Regions from separate parts of the Homo sapiens genome. Here all the other regions are linked to region 3. The links are contacts of gene promoters, found by promoter capture Hi-C in blood cells and fetal thymus (Javierre and others, 2016). All regions are on one chromosome and are shown on one strand. The core of a region is centred on a gene start or on the middle of the fragment in contact, and the rest is flanking DNA. Distances in the headings are between cores, read along the strand shown. Region 1 holds the start of LOC105374137 (a long non-coding RNA gene). Region 2 has its middle 39 kb from the start of CHST2. Region 3 holds the start of SLC9A9 (solute carrier family 9 member A9).

What was found. The method cuts DNA at HindIII sites, captures the fragments that hold promoters and counts their contacts. A CHiCAGO score of 5 or more calls a contact.
Region 1: a fragment that was not itself captured here is called in contact with the fragment with the promoter of SLC9A9 in region 3 in 1 of 17 cell types (M1 macrophages); the score reaches 5.9 in M1 macrophages.
Region 2: a fragment that was not itself captured here is called in contact with the fragment with the promoter of SLC9A9 in region 3 in 1 of 17 cell types (M1 macrophages); the score reaches 5.7 in M1 macrophages.

What each region holds. Positions count from the first base shown.
Region 1 is chr3:143,130,813-143,135,694 of GRCh38, reverse strand. It overlaps LOC105374137 (a long non-coding RNA gene), which reads left to right and starts at 2,897. Exons shown (of 3, transcript XR_924554.3): 1 at 2,897-2,984; 2 at 3,761-3,809. The HindIII fragment of the contact is 2,280 bases long and covers 401-2,680 here.
Region 2 is chr3:143,155,911-143,160,797 of GRCh38, reverse strand. No RefSeq gene overlaps it. Among named protein-coding and RNA genes, the nearest start is that of CHST2, 39 kb to the right of the region's middle. The HindIII fragment of the contact is 2,781 bases long and covers 1,430-4,210 here.
Region 3 is chr3:143,845,227-143,849,998 of GRCh38, reverse strand. SLC9A9 (solute carrier family 9 member A9) reads left to right here and starts at 1,531. Exons shown (of 16, transcript NM_173653.4): 1 at 1,531-1,851. The coding sequence starts at 1,677. The HindIII fragment of the contact is 4,941 bases long and covers 19-4,772 here.

The DNA of each region.
Region 1 (4,882 bases), core at 291-2,790, 710 kb after region 3:
CTGCCACAAAGAAACAAAGAAAAAGTAAGATGTTGGATATTAAAATGCAAGTTACCACAACCAGAATATTTTCATCAGAGTGGTGAGGTAACCATCTATAAGCAATTAAGACCTCCTGGAAGTCCTCTGATATTTTGGGGGGAGAATGGGAATCATAACATTACTGTAAGTTAGAGAACTGACCCACAGTCTGTAGAATGGGGACTGGAAGAAGTAATGACCAGAAGACAGAAGTTATTGCAGATGGTTTGAAAAGCCCGGAAGGGCAACTGCCAATGGCAATGCCAGGACCACATCCCCATAGAGACAATGTTATTAGTCATCACTCCCACTTCCAGGAGAGCAAACCGCAGCTACAAGGAATATGAATGTGTTCCTCTCCTGCCCCCAGCTTGAAGCTTCCTAATATGCATTTTTAAGCAAATTCTTAAGTTACAGAAAAGAAGTGACTCATTCTTTCTGTCTCACATTATTAAAAGTTGTGCAAATCATTTATGTTAATATGCATATGTATGGTAACATGCATGTATGTTCCTTAGATGAGACTCTGTTTTTCTAAATTCACTCAAAATGAATGTGTTATAGCTGGGTGTAAAACTCTTAGGGTAAGAAATATATTCTTACTAAAGGGGATAAGTGGAAATCAGAAAAGAAATGAATAGATTTACATTGTCATTTATACATAATGTAATTTGTAGGGTGTCTGACAAACCAAACTTTCTCATCACCCAAAAACAAGCTCAGAAATGGAAATCTTAGTCTTTTTATGTGATTTATACAACGCTTGTTTGCCTTCATCCCTCCTAATATCATATGCTTGAAAAGACTCTAAGAATCGAATCCTGGACCCAGCCACATGGCTAAAATGCTGCAGGATGGAAGCCCAGAATTCATTTTAACATGTATTATTCCCTAGACTGTGACAGAATTCAGGTTTCACTTAGCCTTCTCCAGGCTCCCAAAACCAAGAATCTAGTGGGTTGTTAACATATTCATAGGTAAACAAATGCTCAGTCCTTTGGCAGGCTGCCAGGACATGGTGCCAGGAAGGGATCCAGGCAACCATGGTGAAGCTGTGGGGGTCTTTCACCTCCCTCACTCTGTGGGACTGGACTACTGCAGATGCCACACCTGGCTTTCTGAGCATCTTATCTGTAAATTTATGGAATCCTGTGGACAAGATACCTACTGGTAGAGTCTTGAAATGCAGCCAGAATTACTGAACTGAGGTGGTACTCTTTAGGCCAGCACAACCACTCCAGGCCAGATGTTTGCAAAATGCAATTGACTATAAGTCTGTAGAGCAATCCTTCCCAAAAGCACAGGAATCACCTGAGGATCTTATTAAAATGTAGATGGGAGGATCGCTTGAGCCCAAGGGTTCGAGGCTACAGTGAGCTATGATCGTGCCACTGAACTCCAGCCTAGGTGACAGAGACCCCATCTCTAAAAATAAATAAATAAATAAATGCAGATTATGATCTGGCAGTCTAGAGAGGGGCTGATACTGCTGGTCCAAGGACCCGACTTTGAAGAGCAATGCTGTAAAGTGAGACCATTCCATACACAGTAAAATAAACATGGTTTGGAGGCATCCCGCGTGCCAGACACTGTGCCTTCTGCTGGAAGCACACAGATAAGACAAGAGCCCTGCCTTACAGGAGCTTGTCCTGTAATAGGAGAAACAGCTTATAACACACTGGGTAAATTCTGCACTTGTTGAGATTCTTTGCACTATAAGGAAGAAAACATCCAATCTACAGTGGCTCAAACAAAAAGGAAATGTAACTGGCTCCTCTAATTGCAAACCAAGGGTAAGGCTGACTTCAGACCCATTTTAGCAGGGCTAAAATGACTTCACCAGAACCTAGCTTCCCTTTGTCCACCAGTCTGTGGTTTCTCTCTCCGTATCTTTTGGCTCTGCTCTCCACAATTTGACTGTCTTCTAGAGGCACCATGGATACCAGTCCTTATGTCTTCTCCTCTTTAAATAAGAATGCCTGCCTAACCCCGAAATCTGAGCAAAAATATCAAGATATCTCATTGGCTCTAATTGGGTCATGTGCTCAGTCCTTAGCCGATCATTTTGGTCTTGGGAAAGTCAGCATGGCAAATGCTAGAGTTGTGTGTGAAGTTAGATCCAACACAACCACATGCACCAAAGAAGCAGGAGACAGATTTCCAAAAGAAAATCAGGGCTTGGATGCTGGGCAGCCACTGTCCCACAGTCAGTGCTAAGAGGTGTTTTAGAAGCATGAGCAGGGGGCAATGAGGGCATGGAGAAAGACACCGGTACCTGATAAACACTATCAATGTGTGTGTGTGTGTGTGTGTGTGTGTGTGTGTGTCCCCAGATACAGGGCAAAATGGCAAAGTGCACACAGTGCCAGTCTGGAAAGGACTGCTGATTGGTTTCTTGGGGGCTTTTAAGTCAACCCTCCTCCACCCCTACCTCTACCATGGTGCAAATCAGTCACTTCAGAAATAGTTCATTCACTACTTCCTGTGCAGGAGATAAGAAATGAAAAGTGTGGTTTAATTGCTCCCAAGGTGATTAAATTGCCATATTGACCAGACTGACACACATCTAATAATTTGAGGCCAATATAAAAGACTGTGCAGCTGAGTGCTAATTTGTGCAAAGAGAAAGGAGACATTGGTGTGGGCTAGAATAGAAGCTTCCACAGGCATTGAACAAACAGATGGAATAATGAGCTGGTTTATGCATTGGAACAAGACAAGACCAAATGAGTTGTAGGAGAGGACAGTGCCATCTTCAAAAGCAAGCACAACTGCAAGAGTTGAGTGCCCAGATCAATGACTTCCTCTCCGCCATGACCCTTTCTACCATTACTCATGATTTCAATATCCATTTTAGGAACCCATTTGACATCCTGGCCTTTCAGCTTCTTATCATCTTCGTGCTCTGATTCAACATAGCTACTCTTGTTGTTGATCAGTGACAACCTCACCACCCCAGAAATGTAGGTTTCAAGAATTCTTACCCACTACATTTCTGCATTCTATCATACCATAACCATATATATATTTCAAATATCTGATCTCATAGAGTTCCAGTCCAATATTTCTCCTACTTTTTCCCCATCCATTACCCATCATCCAACTATCCATCTTCTCCACACCTGAATAAAAGCAGCAGAATGTAGCTAGAAAAAAAATCATGCAACCTTTAAATTCATTATAGCCACAAATGTCCAAAATAGCAATGATGATTCTGATGACAACCTTGGTGATATCATTTATTAACATTTATTGAGTATCATTATGAGACAGCCTTATTCTCAGTTCTGAGTCAGTGTGTAATTTTCTTTGGCTTAATTTAGCTCGGTATTTCTCAAGGGGACCACTATTAACATTTGGAGCAGGACAATTCATTATGTGGGACTGTCCTCAGCAAGGCAGAACATTCAGCATTATTGCTTCCAGCCCACTAAATGCCAGTCCCATTCCCTAGTCATGGAAAAAAAAAAATTCCAAAGGCTGTCTCCCAATCTTTCCCCCAACCAGATTGCAGGGACCGTCCCACACCCAGCTGAGAACCACTGGCTGAGTAGAAAGAGCACTAAATTGGGCATCAAATCTGATACATACCATATTCTGTGACCTTGAGCAAGTCACTTAGCTTCTGAGTTTCAGCTTCTTCTATAAGAGAAAGATCATAATCCTATTTCTGCCCAGTAATCATAAGTTTCAAATGATCTAATAAAATATTAATGAGAATATTTGCTGTATCCATTAGGACTGTACTTGGCTGTGAGTAACAAAGTCGGCAGCAACAGCTTAAACAAGTAAGTGTTTATTGTTCCCACATCATAGGTATTCTGGAGACCAGTGGTCCACGCTGATGAAGTGGCTTCATGATGTCATCAATATCCCTGGCTCCTCTTTCTGCAAGCAGCTTTTACTCCCTGGCTCCCTCTCAGTCACAAGGTAGAGGCCCCACTTCCATACTCAATCTGCAGACCAGCCAGAAAAAAAAAAAGGAAAGAAAAAGGACAAAACAGGCAAGAAAAAGTTCTGCCTATATCAGATATATAAAACTTACCCAGATATCCCCAGCAGAATTCCATTTACATCTCATTGGCTGTCACATGATCATTCCTACCTACAAGGGAAACTGGGAAATATTTTTAGCTGAGCATATTGCCTCCCTGAACAAAATCAAGGTTCTACGAATAAGAAAGAAGGGGAGAATGGGCAGTGGGTGGGAAATCAGCAATATCTGCTGTACTTGTTAAACTTACGAAGCATTATAAAAGTATAAGGCGGCATGATCATTAAACCCTGAAAGAAGGCATATCATAAAATACAGTATCTGCATGAATTTCACTACATGAATTCCATCTGGTGTCCCATTTATCTGCATTACTTAAGGCTAAGTAAGTGAATGGTCTTATTTATATCCAACAAGCATGGTGGCCCAATTAACTACTGAGGCACATCTCTGCCCACATTTTAACATAGCAATGCAGAGTGAAAAACCTTGTATGTAGTGGACTCTAAAGAAAATAACCCCCAATTAGTCAACGTAGCAGGAGAATAATAGTAAAGTATATTAATGAATACAGAAGACATTTATTGGTTAAGACCACCTGGCATGCACTTCCCCTACTTTTGATCATTGCAGCCTGATTTTCTTGTGAAAAATCACTTGCCCACATTGTGTGCAGATTGGTGAGACTATCAGTCAAGGTAGCTTGCTCAGGTGCCAAGGCACAAACACCTGACCCAGCCTCAGCTGATCCAACTCTCTCTTCCAGGACTTTGAATTCTAAATGTGTGAAATACAACAAAGAAAGAGAGGGAAGGAGGAAGGGGAAAGAAACACGGAAGGAAGAGGGAGGGCAGGGATGGAGGGATT
Region 2 (4,887 bases), core at 1,571-4,070, 690 kb after region 3:
AATTAAAAAGCAAATCTTCCCAGAAGATGTAAGGTTATAGAGCTGAGCTGTGGGCGGGGAGGTCCACACTGGAAGCTCAAAGAACCCCAGGAAATGCAGCTGAGAAGCAGAGCCCTTGGAGGACAGGAATGTCTGGGAGCCCGGAAAGCCACAGGCCTGGGGCCCACCGAGAGGGTAACACAGTGACTGAGAGGTTAAAGTAATTCTGCAAAACAGCTTGTCCCTTAGAGCAGTTTCCCTCCCAAGGACACCATCAGCAGGAAATCATGGGGCGGTCGTGAGAGACCGAAGTCCCCCGGGGAGAGGTTAGGTATCCTATAGAGAAACACAGGGGTGAGGACGGACAGCAGCATCCGGCGACTCAGAAGGAATTAAAAAGCCAAATGGCAGAGTGTGTGACATAGATATGAAATCCAGGTTCTATGAAGAGAAACCCTCCTGATTCCACAGCCAATGAGAAGGTGAGCTTCCAAATCCTGTTCGTGGGATCCGTGGGTGACCCCTAGTACCAGGACACAGTCAAGAATTTCTGTTTCCACAAGCAAAGTTAAGTGGAGAATTCAGCAAATCTGTTGGGAAACCAGGGACAAAGAACTCGGACTTTTTCAAAAAAGGGCTGTCTGTTGTTTCCTTCAGCTAAATTATGAGAATACATTCTCAGCTCTACCTTGTAAAAATGAAAAGAGTCTTGCAGGGAAGGACAAGTCTCACCATTTCAGAAACTCAAGAAGCAGTTTGATTGTCAAATCAAATCAGTCTATAAACATTTTTCTAAAAGTCTCCTCAGGTCTTTGCAATCTTTTAGAATTATCTGAAGAAAACAACAGCAATGGGGAATCTCCTACCAGATATGAAGAAATTTGCTTAAAATATATATGTACATGCACAGCAACTCAATTACCCACACCAATGTAATTTTGTTTTTCCTTACCAATGTAAGGAAAAACAGGAAATTCACAAACAGCTATGAAGCCACACAATATCAGTGGCCACCATTTACTAAGGTCTTGCCCTAGCAAGGAAGGACTTACGACAAGCACCTCACATACAGGAGCTCATGTAATCCTCCAGAAAACTCAGTGTTAATAACAACACTGGCAACTTATGCACATTATTTCATTTAGTTCTCAGATCAAATCTTGGAAGAAGGTACTACCATTATCCCATTTTACTGATAAGGAAAAGATGAAAAGACACTAAGTAACTTGCCCACGATCATATAGCTAATGAGTGTGCACCAGAGAATCAACCCAAGTATCTAAACCCATTGCTCCTACCTCTGACTCTGCTAGACCCTCTCCATATTTTACAGATTAGGCAACTGAGCCTTAAAGAAGTTAAATAACATCAAAGAATATATAGCCAGTGTGTGGTCACATCAGGATTTGAACTCCAGTCATTCTACTTACAAAGCTTATGCTCTTAAGCTTGGTATTAGATTAAACTGACTCTCATACCCAACCTAATTTCTAGTTGGATGTTATTTGAGGTTTTCATAAAATGTGAAATTGGGAAAATCCTAGTGCTTCAAACCAACACCCAAGCCCTATAGCAGAGGGCTGGTTGAAAAGAGCTGGGATAAATGTCTGAGGGACCTGTCCTGACCATAGGTTTTGTACTGCCCTGAAGGATGGCCCAGAACACCACTCAGACAACAGCAAAGCCAACCCCACCTGCTCATAACAGCCCTGGCAGTGAGGATTGGAATACTTGTAGGAAACATGGAAAAGGGGAGTCTATTGTTTTGTTGTTTTATTGATAAATTAACTTATTTCTCACATTAAATGGGAGGAAGATGAGTACCTCATAGAATGTAGTGAACATCTGCTGTTTGGGGTTTACCACCTGCTCCCACTGGGGACTCTCTATTCAAGGTGTTCTGCCTTCCCACCAAAGATGAGCATGTGACCCAGGCTATGGCCAAGGGAAACCCTCAAGAATTGAATCTTGAGGGGAGAGACACATAAAGAAGTTTCTGGACTTGACTCATCCTAGCAGCCATGCCCTGGACACAGTGATGGCTGGTTCCTGTTACTGTGCTTCCTGGGGTTTCCCCAGTCACTGTTGTCCCGAAACAAGATCCAACAGCTGCTCCTTTAATTCTGTGAGCTGCCTCATAGCCTCCAGCACATTTCTTTTTCTCTTACGTTAGCTAGGATTGGTTCCTGTTGCCTGCAACCAAAAAAAATCCTAACTGAATTTCAAGTGACCAGGGAGATGCATCATTTGGCACTGGTGAACTGCATCAGAATCCACTACAGAAATCAAGAGGTGACTAATGTGGAAGAGCTAATGTGTGGAGAACTGTGGGCTATTTCAGGAGACAAGGACATGAGGGAATCAGCTCTGATTGCATTGGGTTTCTGCACAGTTCTACACCCCTGAAATCTTCTGTCCCTTGCATGATTCACATCTTTCACTGTTATTCACCATTTAAACCCCCAGATTTGTTGTCCTATGATAAGTGGCTCAGCTGTCTAGAACATGATGCTAATGAGGGCAGCACTTCTGACTTGATTCTTGTGGGCCAGTTACCTTAGTTCTGAGTCACAGACACTTGAAACCTGGTCAAAGCTCTTTTGACATTTCATGGAGCCAAAGTAATGAGGTTGATGGACAGCACTAATCAGTGCCACAAATTCAGGTTCAGCTCATATTTCTTAAGGCCCTTCTCCATGCCAGGTAGTGCATTAGGCACTCCAAATGCATGACCTCATTGGCTGTCCAGTAAGCACTGTGACAAATGAACTTAACTGAATTACAAATGAATGACATAACTACATTGAAGAAGGTGAGGAAGAAAGGATCTGAACTAAGTCACTTTGGAAAACAGTATCTTGACTGGACACTATAAGGCTAAAGACAAAAAGAATGTACATAAATACTGTACTCTAGTTGGTAAATTTGTTTCTCACAAGCGTGCTAAGTTAGCAATTCTGAAACTACTTTGTGTGCTAGTGTTGAACATTATAAGTAAACATATTATAGATAATGAAAACCAAGTTTCTTTCTGTTAGAGAAAGAAGTTATCAATAAAGAAAGGGAGATGGCTAGAATAAACCCTGTGGGGCTGGATTGGAGCCAGAGATAGCAGTGTGAACTTATGGCTATTTTATTTTATTCTGGCAAAATATACATAACATAAAACTTACCATCTTAATCCTTTTTAGGTGTACAATGCAATGATATTAAGTACATTCACATCGTTATGCAACCATCACCATCTACCTCCAGAATTTTTCTATCCTTCTGAACTGAAATGTTCATGCCCTTTGAACAATAACTCCCCATTGTCCCCTCCATCCAGCTCCTAGTAACCACCAGTCTACTTTCATTCCTCTATGAACTTGACTATTCTAGATACTTCATATAAGTGGGATCACGTAACATTTATCCTTTTGTGTCTGGCTTATTTCACTTTGCATAATGTTTTCAAGGTTCATCCATGTTGCAGCATGCATAAAAACTTCATTCCTTAAGGTTGTATAATATTCCATTGTATGCATATGCCACATTTTGTTTATCCATTCATCCATTAATAGGCATTTGAGCTTCTTCCACCACCTTTTGGCTATTGTGAATAATGTTGCTATGGACTTTACAGTACAAATGTCTGACCAAGTCTCTGCTTTTGATTCTTTGGGGTATATACATAAAAGTGGAATTGCTGGATCATCTGGTAGTTTTACATTTCACTTTTTTTAGGGACTGCCATATTGTCTTCCACAGTGACTGCACCATTTTATACTCCCTAAGGCAATACGCAAGGGTTCTAATTTCTCCATATTCTCACCAACACTTGTTTTCTGTTTTGAGGATAATAGCCATCCTAAGAGGCGTGATGTGGTACCTCATTGAGGTTTCAATTTGCATTTCCCTAATGATTTCTGATGTTGAGTGTTTTTTCATGTACTTCTTGGCCATTTGTATATCTCCCTTGAAGAAATATCAGTATCAAGTCATTTGCTCATGTTTAATTGAACTGCTTTGTTGTGGTGGTTTTTACTAAGTTTTTGGAGTTCTTTAAATATCCTGGATATTAATCTCTTACCAGTATATGATTTACAAAAGTTTTCTCCCATTTTGTAGGTTGCCTTTATCTTCTAGATAGTATCCTTTGATGCACAAAAAATTAATTTTGATGAAATCCAATTTATCTATTTTTTGGCATAATATCCAAGAAATCATTGCTAAATCCAGTCACTAAGCTTTTCTCGTGTGTTTTCTTCTAAGAGTTTTATAGTTTTAGCTCTTATGTTTAAGTCTTCAATCCATTTTGAGTTAACTTTTGTGCAGGGTGTAAGAAGTATTTCATGATTTCAAAATTTTGTGCGTGGCATAAGGAGTATTTCCTGATTTTAAAGTATCAGGAAATATTTCCAAAAGCTGATACCTCCAGCTTTATTGTTCTTTTTCAAGATTGACTTCGCTACTCATGGTCTTTTGTGGTTCTATATAAATTTTGGAATTTTTTTTATTTCTGTAAAGAAAGTGCCATTGAGATTTTGATAGGGATTGTTTTGAATGCATAGATCACTTTGGGTAGTATGGGCATCTTAACAATATTAAGTCTTCCAATTAATTAACATGGGATATCTTTCCATTTATTTACATCTTCTTTGATTTCTTTCAGCAATGTTTTGTAGTTTTTAGTGTTCAAATCTTTTACCCTCTTGGTTAAGTGTATTCCTACTATTTTATTCTCTTTGATGTTAATGTAAACGGTCCTTTCAGATCGTTCATTGCTAGTCTATAAAAATGCAGCTGTTTTCTTGGTGTGGTGATTTTGTAACCTGCAAGTTTGCACGATTCATTTATTACTTAACAGTTTACTTGTGCAATCTTTAGAATTTTCTACCTGTAAGTTTACGTCATCTGTGAACAGAG
Region 3 (4,772 bases), core at 282-2,781:
TCAGAGAGGAAATAAGCTTCCAAAGTTGCACAAAGCAAAGATGCTGAAACAGCAGAGCTTTGTATTAAGGGGTTGATAGACTTGCTCTCATGGTGAAACTGTTTGTTGAGGAGGTAGTTAGCTCCCAATAATATTACATGCTTGACCTTTAGCTTTTAGTGACAAAAATTGTTTCAGGACGCATTTGGGCTCAGCCTACTCAATAAGAAATCACATTGTATAAATTGAGCATTAATTGTGTCAAAATGGGGATCATAAGTGATTAATACTCCCAAATTACAATGATATGGTAAAATGAAAAAAAAAATCAGCTAACCCCAGGATATACCCAAATGTGTTATAGGATCAAGTGTTAAAAGCAAGCAGGTCATAATATTTGCTAAGAAAAAAGAAAGAAAAGGAAAAAAAAGCTGCAGAACCCATGGTATTATCTTGAACTATTTTAAAGTAGAAAAATATGAAATCAGACAGGAGCAACCTGCCACATGGAAGATGATCTGAAGAATCATCACTCTTATGATCAGAATCCTGTGAATACAGAGCTTTCATTTCTGGTGGCAGAACCATTTCTCAGTGAGCAACATTGTTTTGCCATAGGACAGAGGAGGTTGTGATCTATTGCAGATTTCTGTGGGTCCTGGATGCCGAGACCAGGAACCCTACAAAGAGAAATCCATGCATGTGGCGTTGCTGAGGATGGCTGCGTGAGTTTCTCTTTCGAAGTAATGTGTTTTGTTTTTTTTCTTTTTTGTCTCAACGTATCCAAACAGTACAGTTGTAGAGATGGGGATGGAATTTTATTTGTCTTTTGCTTTCATTGTTTTCTCTTGTTAAAAGAAAAACAATTGATTTAGAGTTTAAAGGCTGCTCTGCAACTATCAATTATATAAAGCCAAATAGAGTCATATACTAAATCCTTTCTTGCTTCTCAACTAAAAAAAAAAAAAAAAAATCCTGTGAAATCACTTTAGGTTTGCTTAACCAATGTACAGTCATGATTTGAGAGCATAAGAAACCCTATAAGAAACCCTATGCCTTAAGTGAATCCCATTGTGAGATACTTGAGCTATGAGGCGGAAGTTTCAGGCTAAGCAGTGTAATATCTTTTCAGGAGGCTAATATGCTGATCCATTTAGAGCACAGAGGCTGATTGATAACTGTGCTATCAATCCCCATCACTTTGGCAGGTCTTGGTTAGAGAGGAAAGATCTTGCATTTAGGTGAAGTTGAGTCAGGAATTGGCTTTTTGAACTTAGAAAACGTTGCTAGTGTAAGGCTACCTTTTTTATTATTAATCTACAGTTCATATTTATGCAGCTTAAGAAGACTTATTTGGAATAATAAGACCGTGATTCAAGATCTTAGCATCATTGCTTGCAGATTTGTCCAGTATGAAAGATATTTTCATGAGATGAATCACTTAAAGACATTAAGAGTCAGTGATGAAACCACACACTCTCGAGTTTGAAAAGAGACAGGGCTGCTTTAAGAGAGAAACAGGAAGTTGTAACTAGAAGCCATCTGAATACTAAGCCAGGGCAGAATGCTTGTGAAGTAGCAACTAAAGTGGCAGTGTTTCTTCTGAAATTCTCAGGCAGTCAGACTGTCTTAGGCAAATCTTGATAAAATAGCCTTTATCCAGGTTTTTATCTAAGGAATCCCAAGAAGACTGGGGAATGGAGAGACAGTCAAGGGTTATGTCAGAAAAGGATGAGTATCAGTTTCAACATCAGGGAGCGGTGGAGCTGCTTGTCTTCAATTTTTTGCTCATCCTTACCATTTTGACAATCTGGTTATTTAAAAATCATCGATTCCGCTTCTTGCATGAAACTGGAGGAGCAATGGTGTATGGTGAGTGCATAAATTGTGAGATTGATGTGAAACTTGTTGCTTGAGCGTAATTAGAGACTTGTGCTCAGATAGCAAAGTACCGAAACTGGAGAAAATGTGCTGATTGAAATGTCATTAGTTTGATGAAAGGTGCTGCAGCGTAACGAATGCTAATCTCTTTACAGACAAGCCGCCGAAATTTGCCATGTCACGAGAGCAAATGTCACAGTCATGTTCTCACACGGCACATAATGCAAGTCTGTTGACAGATGCGGGTCCATTGTCATGTGGGGAGTCGAGGGCGAGCTGTTTGTTTTTGTAATGATGTTGGGAAGTGATGGCTCTGCAGTCACAAAGAGCAGCCTTCTCTCACTGGCTGCACCGATGAACATTACGAAGTTCTAGAAAAAACATCACTTCAAAATGCCTGGAGTAATTCCTCTTATATCAACTAATTTCAAGAAGAAAACTTGCAGAAACTAACCCCACCCCTCTTAAGAGAATATTGTGTCCAAGTCCTTTTTATTTATACGAACAGTGTCTTATTTTCTTATAATAAAAAGTTATAAATAAACGAGAGTTTCTTTATGCAGTACTTTTTACTTCTTAGCCTGATTTCAGATGTTCTAATTTATAATGATCATTGCTAGTGTTATTTGTTATGTATCTCCTATTTATGTATTGGAGGCCAAGGTGTGGAAAAATATTTAACACCTGCAGTATTGCTCTTTCTGGGCAACTTACCGTATCATTCCTTTCAGAAAGTTTAATAAAGTCTGACAGAGATTATCTGTCTGTACTCTCATCTTTTAAAGTAAAATGAAAGACACCAGTTTTTACTGGTGTTACTGATGAAATAGTTTACTTCACTGCTCTTATCTCAGCCTGATAATGGATAGGAAGTTTGAACACAATGGCAACAGGCAAGGCATTGCTATAATTTATAGCAAATAACATACTTTTATATTTGGGGTTTCCTCATTTTGGAAATCCTGAAACCCTTTCCTAAGCCTGAGATTCAGGGTACAGATCAATGCACATTGTATATGCTAATCCTGTGGTGTCCTGATATTAACAGTGTATAGTTGTGATTTCAGAACCTAAGGAATCCTAAGCCTTAAGTGGATCCCACTGTGAGATACTTGAGCTATAAGGCGGAAGTTTCAGGCTCAGGAGGCTGATATGCTGATCCATTCAGAGCACAGAGTTAAATTCCTTGGTACTGAGGGTCTTTTAAAAATTTTTTGCTTGGGAGTGGGGAGGGACAGCATTAGGAGATATACCTGATGTTAAATGACGAGTTAATGGGTGCAGCACACCAACATGGCACATGTATACATATGTAACTAACCTGCACGTTGTGCACATGTACCCTAAAACTTAAAGTATAATTAAAAAAAGAAAAAAAACATAACCCAAATGCAAAAAAAAAAAAAACCTTTTTTTGCTGTATTGTTTTATTTATTTTTTAAAATTTAGTGGAGACAGGGTCTCACTATGTTGCCCAGGCTGGTCTCCAACTCCTGGCCTAAAGAGATCCACTGACCTTGGCCTCCCAAAATGCTGGCATTACGGGCATGAGCCACCATTCCCAGCCAGTATTGAGGGTCTTAACGGGCACAAGAAAACTCTCATTTAAGAGAAAAAAAAAATCACAATCAGGTGGGAGAGAAATAGCCAAACAAAAAGGAGGGGATGCCATCAGATGTGAAGCCCTAGGTTCCTGTCATTTGCCTATCTCCATCATGAACAGAATTTTTCTCTTGACTTGACTAATAAGTAATCTGCAAGGATATGGAATAGAATCTGAGAAGCCAGAAACAATGTAATTCTTGATATCATATTAAAGGGACATATGTGCTTTAGCAAAACTACCCAGATTTAATAGATTGCCAACCTTTATTAGAGGGAAAGATTTCTTCACATCCCTGAATTTGATTGAACTATGACTCATTTACCAAGTTCAATGGTGGGGATATTGTTTTCGTAAAAGTTTTGATAACCTACTAAAATTCAGTCATGTTTTGCATTCACAATACATACAGTAACTCTTACTTTTGAATCTGAAAAATTCCAGGTTACCTTTAATCCTGCAAAACTCTCTGAAATATTTTTAAATTGTGCTTGAAATAATAAAATAGTAGTTCATTGACCACTGCTATTGAGGTAGCATTTCTCTAAATTGCTGTTCTTAAGGCAGATAAAGGCTTAAAGTTTATGAGTGGAATTAAGTTGGGTTCTCTGATTCCTATTCTTCTTTCATGAGTTTTTTAAAGTAAAAGTTATTGAAAGCAAATTCTGAACCAGTGCAATGTAAAAGGATTATAAAAATTATGGAGATATGCATATATATGTATTCTCTTACTAGAAATTTTGAGTATCTTTCAGTTATCTTGAACTATATAGATCAATGAAAAGACATATTTTAGTGATGTTTAACTTTTTCTTGGCATAGAATCATAATTGTTAGGATGTCAAAGAATTTTAGAGGTTATCTTCTCTATCCCCTTTATTTTAGAGAGGCAGAAGCTGAATCCCAGAGAAGTGAAGGGACTTTCCAAAACTGAATAGCCACTCATGACTGGTCCATGTGCTTTCACTCATCTGCATGTCTTACTAAGGTTCACGTTCACCTGAAAGAACTCTCCCTGTGTTTTCTGAAAGTACTCCATATGGGTGGCATTCATGACTTGTCACATTTCTTCTTCAGGGATGTCCTAAATGTTATATCTTAAATGCTTATTAGGAACTTTCTATCAGTAATGTAATAAAATAGTCTGAAACTACACCAGAGGAACATGATGGGATACTGTAGTAAACACTTTTTAATGATAGGGGAAAGGAGATGCCAAGTGAATTAATTGTCCAACAGCTATAAATGAACTTGGAATCATAGATGGGGAAGGAGCCTTAAAGATCATAAATCCAGCATTCTCATTTTG